Regions from separate parts of the Homo sapiens genome. Here regions 2, 3 and 4 are each linked to region 1. Evidence: promoter capture Hi-C in 16 types of primary human blood cells and fetal thymus (Javierre and others, 2016). All regions are on one chromosome and are shown on one strand. Each heading gives the region's core, a stretch centred on a gene start or on the middle of the fragment in contact. The rest is flanking DNA. Distances are from core to core; before and after follow the strand shown. Region 1 holds the start of SLC1A3-AS1 (SLC1A3 antisense RNA 1). Region 2 overlaps NIPBL (NIPBL cohesin loading factor). Region 3 has its middle 120 kb from the start of RANBP3L. Region 4 overlaps NIPBL (NIPBL cohesin loading factor).

Region 1 (2,700 bases), core at 77-2,576:
GGCATCCTTTGGTCATGGAGTGCTGCTCAGATATGTACTATAGAAACCATTCTGAAGCATTTCAAAAGACATCCAGTTTCTCCTCTGTATACTGCAAAATCTTGGGCTTAGGTTCTGGCATTTAGTCTATGACAAATGATTGCTGGCAAAAGTTGAATGAAGCAGTTAAGAGTATGGGTTTGCAGTAAGATCCAGGTTCAAATTTACACCTTTCCATGTACTACCTGTGTGACTTTGGTGAAATTATCTTCTCCAGGCCTTAGGGTGAAATGTATGTGAGAATGCATGAAGCCTGCCACGTGGTTAATATTAAGAGTGATAACTCATATTATCATTGATGGAGGTGAATGAAAGAAATGGAGTAACACGCTTTTAAAACACAGTTTCCCCTCCATTATCATTTCAACCACTTTAGATGAAAATATTGAGGGATACATCCACAATTTCTAGTTAATTAAAAAATATCAGGAGGTCTTAGTAGATTCTAGATTTTTCCTTCAATGAAATGAGTTGTTAAATAAAAGGCCTCCATAAGTACAGGGTCTTGTCGTTGGGCTCTATCTTATGAGCGGTGGATCTGCCTCCCAGGAAGGTAGGCAGACACCAGTGAGGCATCTGGTGCTTGGGATGCAGCGAGTGGAGCCAAGCAGAGAATGATCAGATCCGTTTGCCTGGAATTTCTGCATTTGCTGCCCCAAACATCTGGAGCCAGGCTACCCAGTGCAGATGGAAAATAGCAAAATGCAAATTCCCTGGGTTCAGCTGAGGGAAGCCAAGGCAGACAGAGTCTGAGAAGGCGGATGAAAGGTGAGCCAAAACAAAAGCCCTGGCGGGTGGTGGGGCAGCGTTTTATCTAGAGCCTACGGCCCCCGGTAAGGACAGGAGATGAGAGAAGGGACCTTAGAGCTACTTGGGCCACCTTCATGTTCGTACTCATCCCCCTCCTTAACAGCCTGAAAGGGAGCCTGCTGGGCTTACGGCAGCCTCCCTGTCCTCTTCCTGATGCCATGCCTGCTCCATTGCTTTGCTTCTTCTGGATCCTGTTTCGCCCTCTCCCTCAAGAAGGAGATCCTGAAATAGATCCTGAGTCAATGACTCAGGTGCAAGTGCTTTATTAAAGAAAGGCTCCCAGAAGAAATCTACTTGCACCCGAATCATTGACTCAGGATCTCCTTCTGGGAGAATCCAAGCCAAGACAAGACAGACAACCCAACCAACTGAGCTGCTCACAGCTTCAACTGCTACAACCCTGGAAAGGATTCTGATTGGCTAGCTAAGGGTCACATGCCCAAATGGGCCTTTGATTGGCAGCTGTTGCTTCCTTCCTACTCCCTCCCACACACCCAGGAGCTCCAGCCTGTTATGGGATGGGCATCCTACCAGGAACCAAGGATGCTAAGGTAAGCAGTCCTTGCCCTCATAGGTTTACTTATACTTAAGGGGAGAGAACCGTTAGTCAAATCACCCCACATACAGATCTTTACACACTATGAAGGACAAGCACAGGGTGCAGTCAGTGGGAGGGGCCCAGAACGGGAAGTGCCATGCTGGCTGCTGCTGTGTGGAATGGGCTGTAAAGAGAGCAAGAGTGAAAGCCACAGCAGGGGAGCTGGTCAGAGATGGCAGTGGCTTTATTAGAGTGGTGGCCCTGGAGTTGGAGACAGGTGGGAAAAACTCAAGAGCCCTCTAAGGAACCGACCCATGGCAGTCCATCGCCACCAAGTCCCTCTTACCACTCTAGGTTTAAAGAAACCCAAAAAACAAAACTACGTTGCAACTGCACTGCTACACCAGGAAACCTAAGGGGGAACAAAAGAAAACTTAGTAGTGCCCTCTAGGCTGAAGATTTGACCTATTATTTACTAACCTTTCCCTCCCTCTTCCTTATTTTCAACAAATCTCCTGCCATCCATTTTGAATTCTTCTCTAAATAGAGAAAGCTTTCTTTCTCAGCTTCATTTAAATGTCCACCATGGTATTTACCCATGTTTTCTTGATTTTTATTTCTTTTTGGGGCGGGTATCTAAAAGATAATCTGATCCCTGTTCCTGATTCTGTAGGTGACAGAGAGAAGTGGTTTTCTCATTTTTTTGTGTGTGAAATTATTCGCATATGAGGAAAAGATAGCTCAAAAATAGAAGCTCTTTCATTATCTCTCCACAATGTAGTGTGGCCCCAAGTGACTATTTTGTGGAGACACGGTAATTTGGGGTGGCTAAATCATTACCCCGAGGTGTGTCAGATGCTGCCAAGACCTCCTTCATTCATGTGGCCAAGACTGTGGGCTTCCTGGCTGGGGAGGCAGAGGCCCTGCTCTTCTGCTGCTAACCTTGGGGTCAGCGAGCCCTGATCCACACTTCCTCTGGGCAACATCAATGGGGCTGCTGAACATATTGAGCCAGACTTGTTTCCAAGAGATAGAAGGAACTAGAGCATTGGGGAAAGTCCCAAGTAACTCTAGCCCTCAGCCACCTGCTGTGGCTGAAGATGAAGTCTCTGCAGCTTCAAGAATCCAACTGGCTGGTGCACATTGTTCTCATTGGCTAGATCATTCCTCCATGTAGCACTTCACTAAACTCATTAACAAATATTTACAAATGACATTGCTTTTTGGGGTCATGTATATTTCAGTCTTCAGAATCCATCAGGCACTCAAATCCCTTGGCAGTTCTAGTTCTCTCCCCTAGACATGCCTCTGCC
Region 2 (2,700 bases), core at 201-2,700, 270 kb before region 1:
TAAAACATGACTTGGGTGTTCTCTATCTTCTCTTTCCAAATTTCACCTATGTATCTCTTGAGCTTCTTACATCACCCCTCTCTCCATTTTCCCCAGGCACCCAGTGACCTTATATTTGTGCTATGGCCATCCAAATCTGTGTACCCCAACTTTCAAAATTATCCTTCAACATTTTCCCCTAACCTTCAACAAAACTATTTCCTTGGTTTTAGATTTTGAGAAACCAATTTGATTAAACTGCTAAGTTTCAAAAATTTTTTTTTCTCTCTCTCAGCAGCATAATGCTTGCAACTTAACGTTCTCATAATAGTTTCACATTTTGTATTGTGCTATATTTTCAATACACTGTTTCTGTTGTGGTGTGACCATTTGGTTGTTTATGTGAACAATCATTTGGACTTCTTTCACCATTCAAATCGGTGCCTCCAGTGTCCACTTTTCTATAGTTACTTGTATAGAAATAAGTGAAGAAAAACAGGAAGCTACTCCTGACATCTCTTTAAAAATCCAGAGAAACTTTCCTTTCTTCTAGCAGTGTGTGAAGCTTAGGTTCTTTAAAATAAATATTACCTTTCGATATAGTTGGGCATAGATATAACAGGGTCCATGGCTTTATAACGAAGCTATGTGCCTCCATAAGATGAGACAATAGCTTTCATGATAGAAAGCAAGGGGAAAAGAATGGTGGCTGCATTGGTGACAAACATGAGGGATGTGTGGCTCTACTCTCCACTATTTTACACTTGGTGGAAATTTTTGATTATGTTATCCTTTCCACTTAACTGTGAGACAGCTTCAGAAATCTTTGCAATTTAGTAATGGAGGCAGTCACTTTCAGTCAACTGGATTTGAAATGTCATTTGAAATCAAACTGGAATTCAGGGACTCCTCCTTCTCGGCTGTTCTAGATATGGGTGATATGTTTATTAGAGGGAAAGAGGCAGAGTGGTAAGGCATGTATATTAAAGGGAATGAGTTCCTGGGCCCCATGTTTCTTTTATCTTCTCATCTTCCAGAGCTAACCACGTCCCCATATGACCAAAATATCTGATTGTAATAAAAAAAATTAACTTTAGCCATTTTAATATACTGTGTGTCAATACATTTCATAATACAATTATAACAATTATACATGATTAAATGTTAAGTTTGCTGTATATTTTATTTCAATTTTAAAACTTTTTTCAGATTTGTTCAGTATTCATAGTCTACTGCTCATAGCTCAAGAGCTCACAATTAAAAAAAAATCAGTAAATTAACATTAAAAACTTTGGAGGAGGTGAAGGGCTTCCATCAGCAATATACATTTAAAAATGGCAGCATGCATCTGTCCTTCCTGCCCTTGCTTGTCACACCTCAATCTATGGACACTAGGTGGAAAAAGTAGAACACTGGTGGTCTTCCCACTTCTTTTGGTCATTATGACTAAGTCAGTTGGCACACAAGTGAAGATCTCCCATAGTCTGTTTCCACTGAATGCCGTTTAAGTCAAACAAGGTTGCTGACCCCTCTTGGCTAGGCTCAATTCTCTTGCTCCAGAAGAAGGAAGATAGGGATAAAAGAGAAGAACTTTTTCAGTGGACCAGTAGGAAGACAGGCGAGGTATAGCAAGTCTAGTGCAAAGACAGGTGATCACAGTGTTGTAGAGAGGTAGCTGTGTAGTGAAGAAGCCAGCTCTGGAAAACAGTGAAACAAGGGAGGAATTCCAGGACACAGCTGGGCAAAAAGGAGAAGCCAGGTCCAAACCACACAGATAATCTGCAATGTGGCTAATCCATTCATAATTTAGTGATAGTATGGTTTTAAATATTTCTTCATCTGGCTATCTCCTACGTGTCCTTCAAGACTCAACTCAAGTGTCACCTCTTCCAGTAAGCATTCCCTGAGCCCCCACTCTGATTTTGATGCCAATCCAATGTGTTCCCATAGCACCCTGGATTTACTGTTATCATTGTACTTTTATCAGCATACTGCAATTATTTATTTACATATTTCCCCCATTAGACTGAAGGCTCTTTGAAGACAGGGGCCATATCTTATTTGCATTTTTACTCTCAGTGTCTAGCATATAATAGGAGCTCAATAAATGTTTGCTGAATGCATACAGACACATACCTACCTGTGTTTTAAAATTAATTGTAGCTTATTTAATATTTTTTTCTTGGTGCCAACTGATCTCATCTTTCACGCATTTTTAAAGTATAGAGAAAAAAACTTACTATACTGTGTTATTAAGAATTAAGGTGACTGTGCTTTTGCTAAACCCCCAAATTATAAATGAGAAAAACACATCAACCTGCTTTTAAACTCTAAAATAATAACAAAGAGTTCTGTGATACTTACATTCAAAAGCTTCATCACTATCATTATCTTCATCTGAACTGATTTCAGCATATTTTGGCTTTTCATTAACTGTGCTACGCTTGCGTTTGTTCATTTTCACACGTTCACAAAGTGGCATGGTGGACTCAATTTCTGCCAGGAGTTCAGGGGGTAATTCTTTTAACACTGATTGATCTATACTACCTATTAATGAAAGGTAAATTTAAAAAAAAAATGTAAATCTGAAGATAAAAGGAAAATTTTAACTAAGTTAGCATAATAAAAATATTAGTATTTGTTTTCTAAATCAACTGTTTATTTTAATAAAACACAACTATAATACTCTTAACCCTAAAGTGACAATATAGTTAATATATA
Region 3 (2,700 bases), core at 125-2,624, 300 kb after region 1:
GACATCTTGCGAGTGGTCTTGCTCCTTTGTGTTACCAGTTTCCAATTCTAAATCCAGGGCAGAAACAAAACTGAGATTCAGGCCCTAGCTGCAAAGGTGCTAGGAAAGTGAGTATCTGGCATATTTGCTCTGTAAGTGGAAGGTGTTTGTGCCCTAATATCAGATGCCAGGGCCATGAATATCCTCTACAAGACTGTTTGGTTATTACTCTCTCAAGGAATAGAAGATTGAAAAATATCTTTAATGTGCAGCCGCTAAGCACTGTTAAATGTTGTCTCTGTGACAGTGACACAAGAAAAAATAAGTGAAACTTAGAATGTGTATAAAGGCAAGCGTTGGACAGTCATGTATAGAAATGAATAGATGGACATCAGGGAGCCTGTGAATGCTCTGAAAGTTTATATTAAATTACGTGTATTTCAAAGACATCTGTTGTTCAAAGAACTTTAGATCCTAGATCTAGATTCTGGTCTAAACCATCTCTACATAGAATAGGCCAATAAGCGAAGTGTCAGAGACAAGCTTATTCAAAGAGGCACAAGGTACCCTAGTAGAGGAAGGCCCAGAACTCACACCTCTAAAATTTGTCTACTGCACATCTTCTGAGTACAAGGCATACTTTAAGATGTGTCTGTCTTAGAACAACCATGTCAATTTGCACCAAAATTATCACATATTTAATGTAAATGCAGAAGCCTATTCCCAGGCTTCAATTTTAGCTTTGCTTTTTATTAGGTTGTCTTGTATTGATACGAATCTTACTTGCTTTCCTTACATTGCCTACCGGTGATGTAGACACATCATCTAAAAGAAGGAGGGAGATGAATCAAGCCAGAAGTTAGAAGCCCCCAGGTAAGGTAACCCCAGCAACACTAGCCATGTGCTGGCTCCTAAAGGGCTCTCCCAGTTGAAAGCATGTGCATAGCTATATAGGTCTTATTTAGAGGACTTTGCTTCCTGTGCTGAAACCACACCACCTCTCATAGCAAGTGGACTACCAGTAAGATTGCTAATTGCATTGTCCAGCCATTTGTCCAATAGTCCAGGTGTTATAAACTCAAATGTCTATTAGGGTGCCAAACAAGTAACACAAGTGAAGCTCTCTAAGGTAAGACAGTTGAAAGTGGAAGGGAACTGTAGTAAACTGAAAGCAGCTGCTAGAAAAAATAGATGCGTACCTTACTTTTTACACCAAAATAAATTCAGGGAATCAATTTAATCAATTTATATCATCAATCAATTACATATCTATCAAAGCAACAACTAAGTCTTTTTTAAGACCTACGAAATGAAGATATCCACAAGTAGATAAAGCCATGTTACATTTTCTTTATTTTTTTTGAGATGGAGTCTCATTCTGTTGCCAGGCTGGAGTGCAGTGGTGCGATCTCGGCTCACTGCAACCTCTGACTCCCTGGTTCAAGAGATTTTCCTGCCTCAGCCTCCCAAGTAGCTGGGATTACAGGCACGTGCCACCATGCCCAGCTAATTTTTGTATTTTTAGTAGAGACGGGGTTTCACCATGTTGGCCAGGATGGTCTCAATCTCCTGACCTCGTGATCCACCCGCTTCGGCCTCCCAAAGTGCTGGAATTAGAGGCATGAGCCACCGCGCCCGGCCCCATGTTACATTTTCTTACTGAGATACATGTAAAAGGATTGGCTGCCATACTCCAAGTGGTCCAACAGAAGGCAGGAAAAATGTCCAGCCCCTTAGAATAGATGAAACAAATTTCAAAGCAATGAGGGGCTGACTTGACTGATGTATGGATCAGGCAGGACCATCATTAAGGCACAATGTCATGATTTTATTGGAATTTTTTTTCTTAGTGAACACAAAATAATGGTGCATCTTGCAATTGATGGTGTCTTAGAAATACTGCATATGTTTTTGTAGTGTGTGGATGCAATACCTTTGAAAGGACACATAAGAATGGTTGGAGCAGTTGCATCTGGGGAACTGGGGAACAGTGTGTATAGACCATTTCATATCTTTTAGATTTTATGCCAAACACAAGGACCATCTATTTAAAAACCTGATACAAATAATAATAATAAAAATAAAATGGTAGCTTTTTATATGCTAATGGAGAATGAAATCTAAAATATACTATAAAAATTTTTAAGTACATACATAAATAGGCAGCACTGCTTAGCTCCAATTTAATTTGCAATGCAGGAATGTAGAGCCAGTGTGCCCAGATCTCATTTTTCAAGAAAAGCTTGAACTCTAGATTTTGTATGAAATCTCCTAATTTTTAAGGTTGACAAGCAATTCAAATTCTTTCAAACATCATTAGGGATAACAAAACCCATCTGTGGGTGGGCTGGGGCCCCGGACTGTCACTTTGGGACATTCACATTGTTCCTGATGGTGGCCCTGTTGCATACACTTATGCAGGTTGTTTGGGGGTGTCTGCCAACAGGACAAGTCAGAAATGAAATACAGACCTGTGCTTTTTTTCACTGAGATATGGACTGTGGCACAGAGCTGCGTGATCCTGGAGCAAAGGACACAAGCGTTACAGTCTGCTCACCAAGCACTGCACCAAACTCACTAAGTTTTCTCAAAAGGGGTGTCTTCTTCTAATTCAAGAAAAGGTGGTCTGTAGGTTTGTGATGGCTTTGCCTGATGAAGAAGTTCAGGAACCCTAGTTTTTAAAGATGAAACTGAAACCCAGATCTGTGTGTGTGTGTGTGT
Region 4 (2,700 bases), core at 74-2,573, 290 kb before region 1:
ACAATTCACCAACAAAAGGAACCAAGATTCCTAGGAGAAACAACTGATCCCAGGGCAGGGGTAGGGAAGGTAAAAGATCTGCCTGAAATACCTTTTTGTTCTAGAAAGCCCTCAAATTATGATGGGAATATATCAAAATGATATAAAAGCCAGCTTCAAAGGGTTCTCATTGATCAAATCTAGGACGATTTGAGCATTAAAATAATGATGGCAACAAATTATAATTTACCAGAGTAGGTATTGTATTACATCAGATGTTAATATTGTATTAATGATAATTTTTTGCTTTTGATAATTGTACTATAGATATTTAAGTGAGAGCTCTTGTTTGCAGAAATATACACTAAGCAGTGGTTCCCAAGTTTCAGCATTCATTCATTCATTAGAATCACCTGGAGGGCTTGTTAAACCAAGAGTTTTTGATTCAGTAGGTCCAGGGAGGGTCCTAAGAATTTGTACTTTTGTTAGAAATGTACTTGTTAGTTCCCAGATGATTTCAATGTTGGTGTTACTTGTCAAGGGGATCATACTTGGAAAATCACTGCATTAGAGAATTCAGGGGTAATGAGGGAATCATGTCTGCAACTTAACTTCAAGTGGTTCGAAACAAAATTTAAAAAAAAATGCATATACAGACACACATACATCTATATTTTGAAAGATGAGAAAGGAAATTTTGTAAATTGTCAATAATTGAGGAATTTGCAAGAAGCTTTTATGGGAGTTCTTTGTACTATTCCTACAATTTTTCTCTAAGGTTGAGATTATTTCAAAACACGAACTATAGCTAAAAAAAAATTAGAGGCATTTCTACCAACATGGATATGATTACGAGCATAAAAAAAGACTAGAAAAAAATGAAAACAGAAGTTGTATATAGTAGGATTAGAAATCATTTCTTCACCAGTTTTCTCAAGTAACTTTATTACTACCACTTCATCCACATTAAAAAAAAAAAAGCAATAAAACACTTTTTCCCCCAAGATGAAAACTCTCTAATGTAATAAAGTATAAAAAAGCTCTCCTCACACCTCCTTGGTATGAGAAGATACAAAACATTCAAAAGTACAAAACAATCTTATTGTGTATGCTAAATCACCATTCAGTAAATTAAAAACTTAAATAAAATTTATGTTAAATCAAATATAAAACAGCATTATACATTATTAAGAGTACTTCACAAAAAGAAAGTAAATGATTTATATGAACCATTCAGAAGTCCCTGTTAGACTAAATAATTCATTCTCAGGTCTTAAAATTTCTCACTGGGGCTTTGAAAAGCCCACTTTTAGAAGTAAAAATCTTATTTTGAATCCACACAAAATGAAATGCAAAACTAATGTAAGGACATGCAAAGAAAATAACTATTATTCATTCCCATAATTTTAATCTTTTATCTTAGTACCTGTTTTAAAATGCGTTCTATAGATCCTTGATCCATTTTGCTTGTAACAGCATCTTTTCTTAGCCGTGCAGCAACAGTTCCAAGGTAATCAAGAGATGCCACTCTTAAAGCCATCTCTGTTGACTTGTTACTGAACTGATGAACCTAAATATCAAAATAGTTTTTGATTGAATAGATTTATAACAATATATTTTAAATAGCAATTTATCATATAAATTCCCAATCTAAATTGTATAATTTAAAATTTAAACTTTTTTTTTTCCTGTGATATTGTCCCATAAAGTCATTTTTGCCTTTTGATTTTCTGGAATCTGAACATTTTCATGTGACTAAAAAAATTACAGATTAAACTTCCTTAAGAACAACACAACTCATTAAATATGCAGGCTCAACTGTATTATTTGCACAAAATGTGGTATTACTGAGTAAGAATTTCTTAGGGTGGAATTCTGATGCCTATGAAAAGTTATTATAGTTTCCGAATAATATTAACATATTTTCCCATTCACAAAAAGGTCCCAGAAGCTTTGTAACAATGTGTATTGTGCAAGTTCAAATGTAGTTTAAAAATAGAGTCACAACATTTCTTTGCATTTACCTACTGTGTTACATGACGACTACAAAATGCCATACATTTGTAGAAATACTCTTAAAGATGATAAGGAGTCTATATTAATCATTTTCTTGCTTTGAAATGAGTAACTTATGACTCAGTGTTGAGATGCTTTTAACAATATAACATTTCCAAAAAAAAAAAAATTGTTAAAGCACTGTTATCTTATGTAATGAAATGAAAGCACCAAACTTCACAACATTTGAAAATTTTCTACAAGGTACTGACAATATTGTGTACAGTTATGCACATGCAAAAAGAGATGCAATGTTCATATTTCCTTACACATTTTTAAAGAATTCATCATCTGTGAATCAGAGTACATCCTCATTATGTTGTCTTCTAGTAATCTAATAATCTTTAAATGCTATACTCTTACCAACAGTCTCCCTAACAAACTAAGGAGTAGTTCAGCAGCTGGCCATTCAGGCTTATTGACTGTTGAAAGAAGGTCTTGAACAAAATTTTCAAACAGTGGTCTGTAATCTTCTTCACCTTGCTTACTACCACATCTGTTCAAAGGCAAATAATGAAAAGGATGTCAATTTAGGTGACACATGTCAGTCATCTGTCTACCAACATGATTGAAATTGTTAGCTAAGTTTTCTTTTTTCTATGTTTAGTAACAAAATATATAAATGTACATTAAATAAAATATGGTTTAAAATGAGTCTATTTCACA

The links. Contacts are between HindIII fragments. The CHiCAGO score rates a contact against its expected background, and 5 or more counts as called.
Region 2: a fragment that was not itself captured here is called in contact with the fragment with the promoter of SLC1A3-AS1 in region 1 in 14 of 17 cell types (megakaryocytes, naive B cells, total B cells and 11 more); the score reaches 14.1 in megakaryocytes.
Region 3: a fragment that was not itself captured here is called in contact with the fragment with the promoter of SLC1A3-AS1 in region 1 in 4 of 17 cell types (M0 macrophages, M1 macrophages, monocytes and 1 more); the score reaches 7.5 in M0 macrophages.
Region 4: a contact is called between a fragment that was not itself captured here and the fragment with the promoter of SLC1A3-AS1 in region 1, in 6 of 17 cell types (megakaryocytes, naive B cells, erythroblasts and 3 more). The highest score is 9.1, in megakaryocytes.

The regions. Positions count from the first base shown.
Region 1 is chr5:36,723,814-36,726,513 of GRCh38, reverse strand. It overlaps SLC1A3-AS1 (SLC1A3 antisense RNA 1), which reads left to right and starts at 1,326. Exons shown (of 2, transcript XR_007058736.1): 1 at 1,326-1,400. RefSeq lists enhancers at 2,329-2,598, 2,639-2,688, 2,699-2,700. The HindIII fragment of the contact is 5,384 bases long and covers 1-1,942 here.
Region 2 is chr5:36,995,448-36,998,147 of GRCh38, reverse strand. It overlaps NIPBL (NIPBL cohesin loading factor), which reads right to left. Exons shown (of 47, transcript NM_133433.4): 11 at 2,344-2,526. Among named protein-coding and RNA genes, the nearest start is that of NIPBL, 120 kb to the right of the region's middle. The HindIII fragment of the contact is 1,808 bases long and covers 547-2,354 here.
Region 3 is chr5:36,419,751-36,422,450 of GRCh38, reverse strand. No RefSeq gene overlaps it. Among named protein-coding and RNA genes, the nearest start is that of RANBP3L, 120 kb to the right of the region's middle. RefSeq lists a silencer at 2,650-2,700. The HindIII fragment of the contact is 1,699 bases long and covers 525-2,223 here.
Region 4 is chr5:37,015,868-37,018,567 of GRCh38, reverse strand. It overlaps NIPBL (NIPBL cohesin loading factor), which reads right to left. Exons shown (of 47, transcript NM_133433.4): 23 at 2,398-2,530; 24 at 1,406-1,549. Among named protein-coding and RNA genes, the nearest start is that of NIPBL, 140 kb to the right of the region's middle. The HindIII fragment of the contact is 1,218 bases long and covers 715-1,932 here.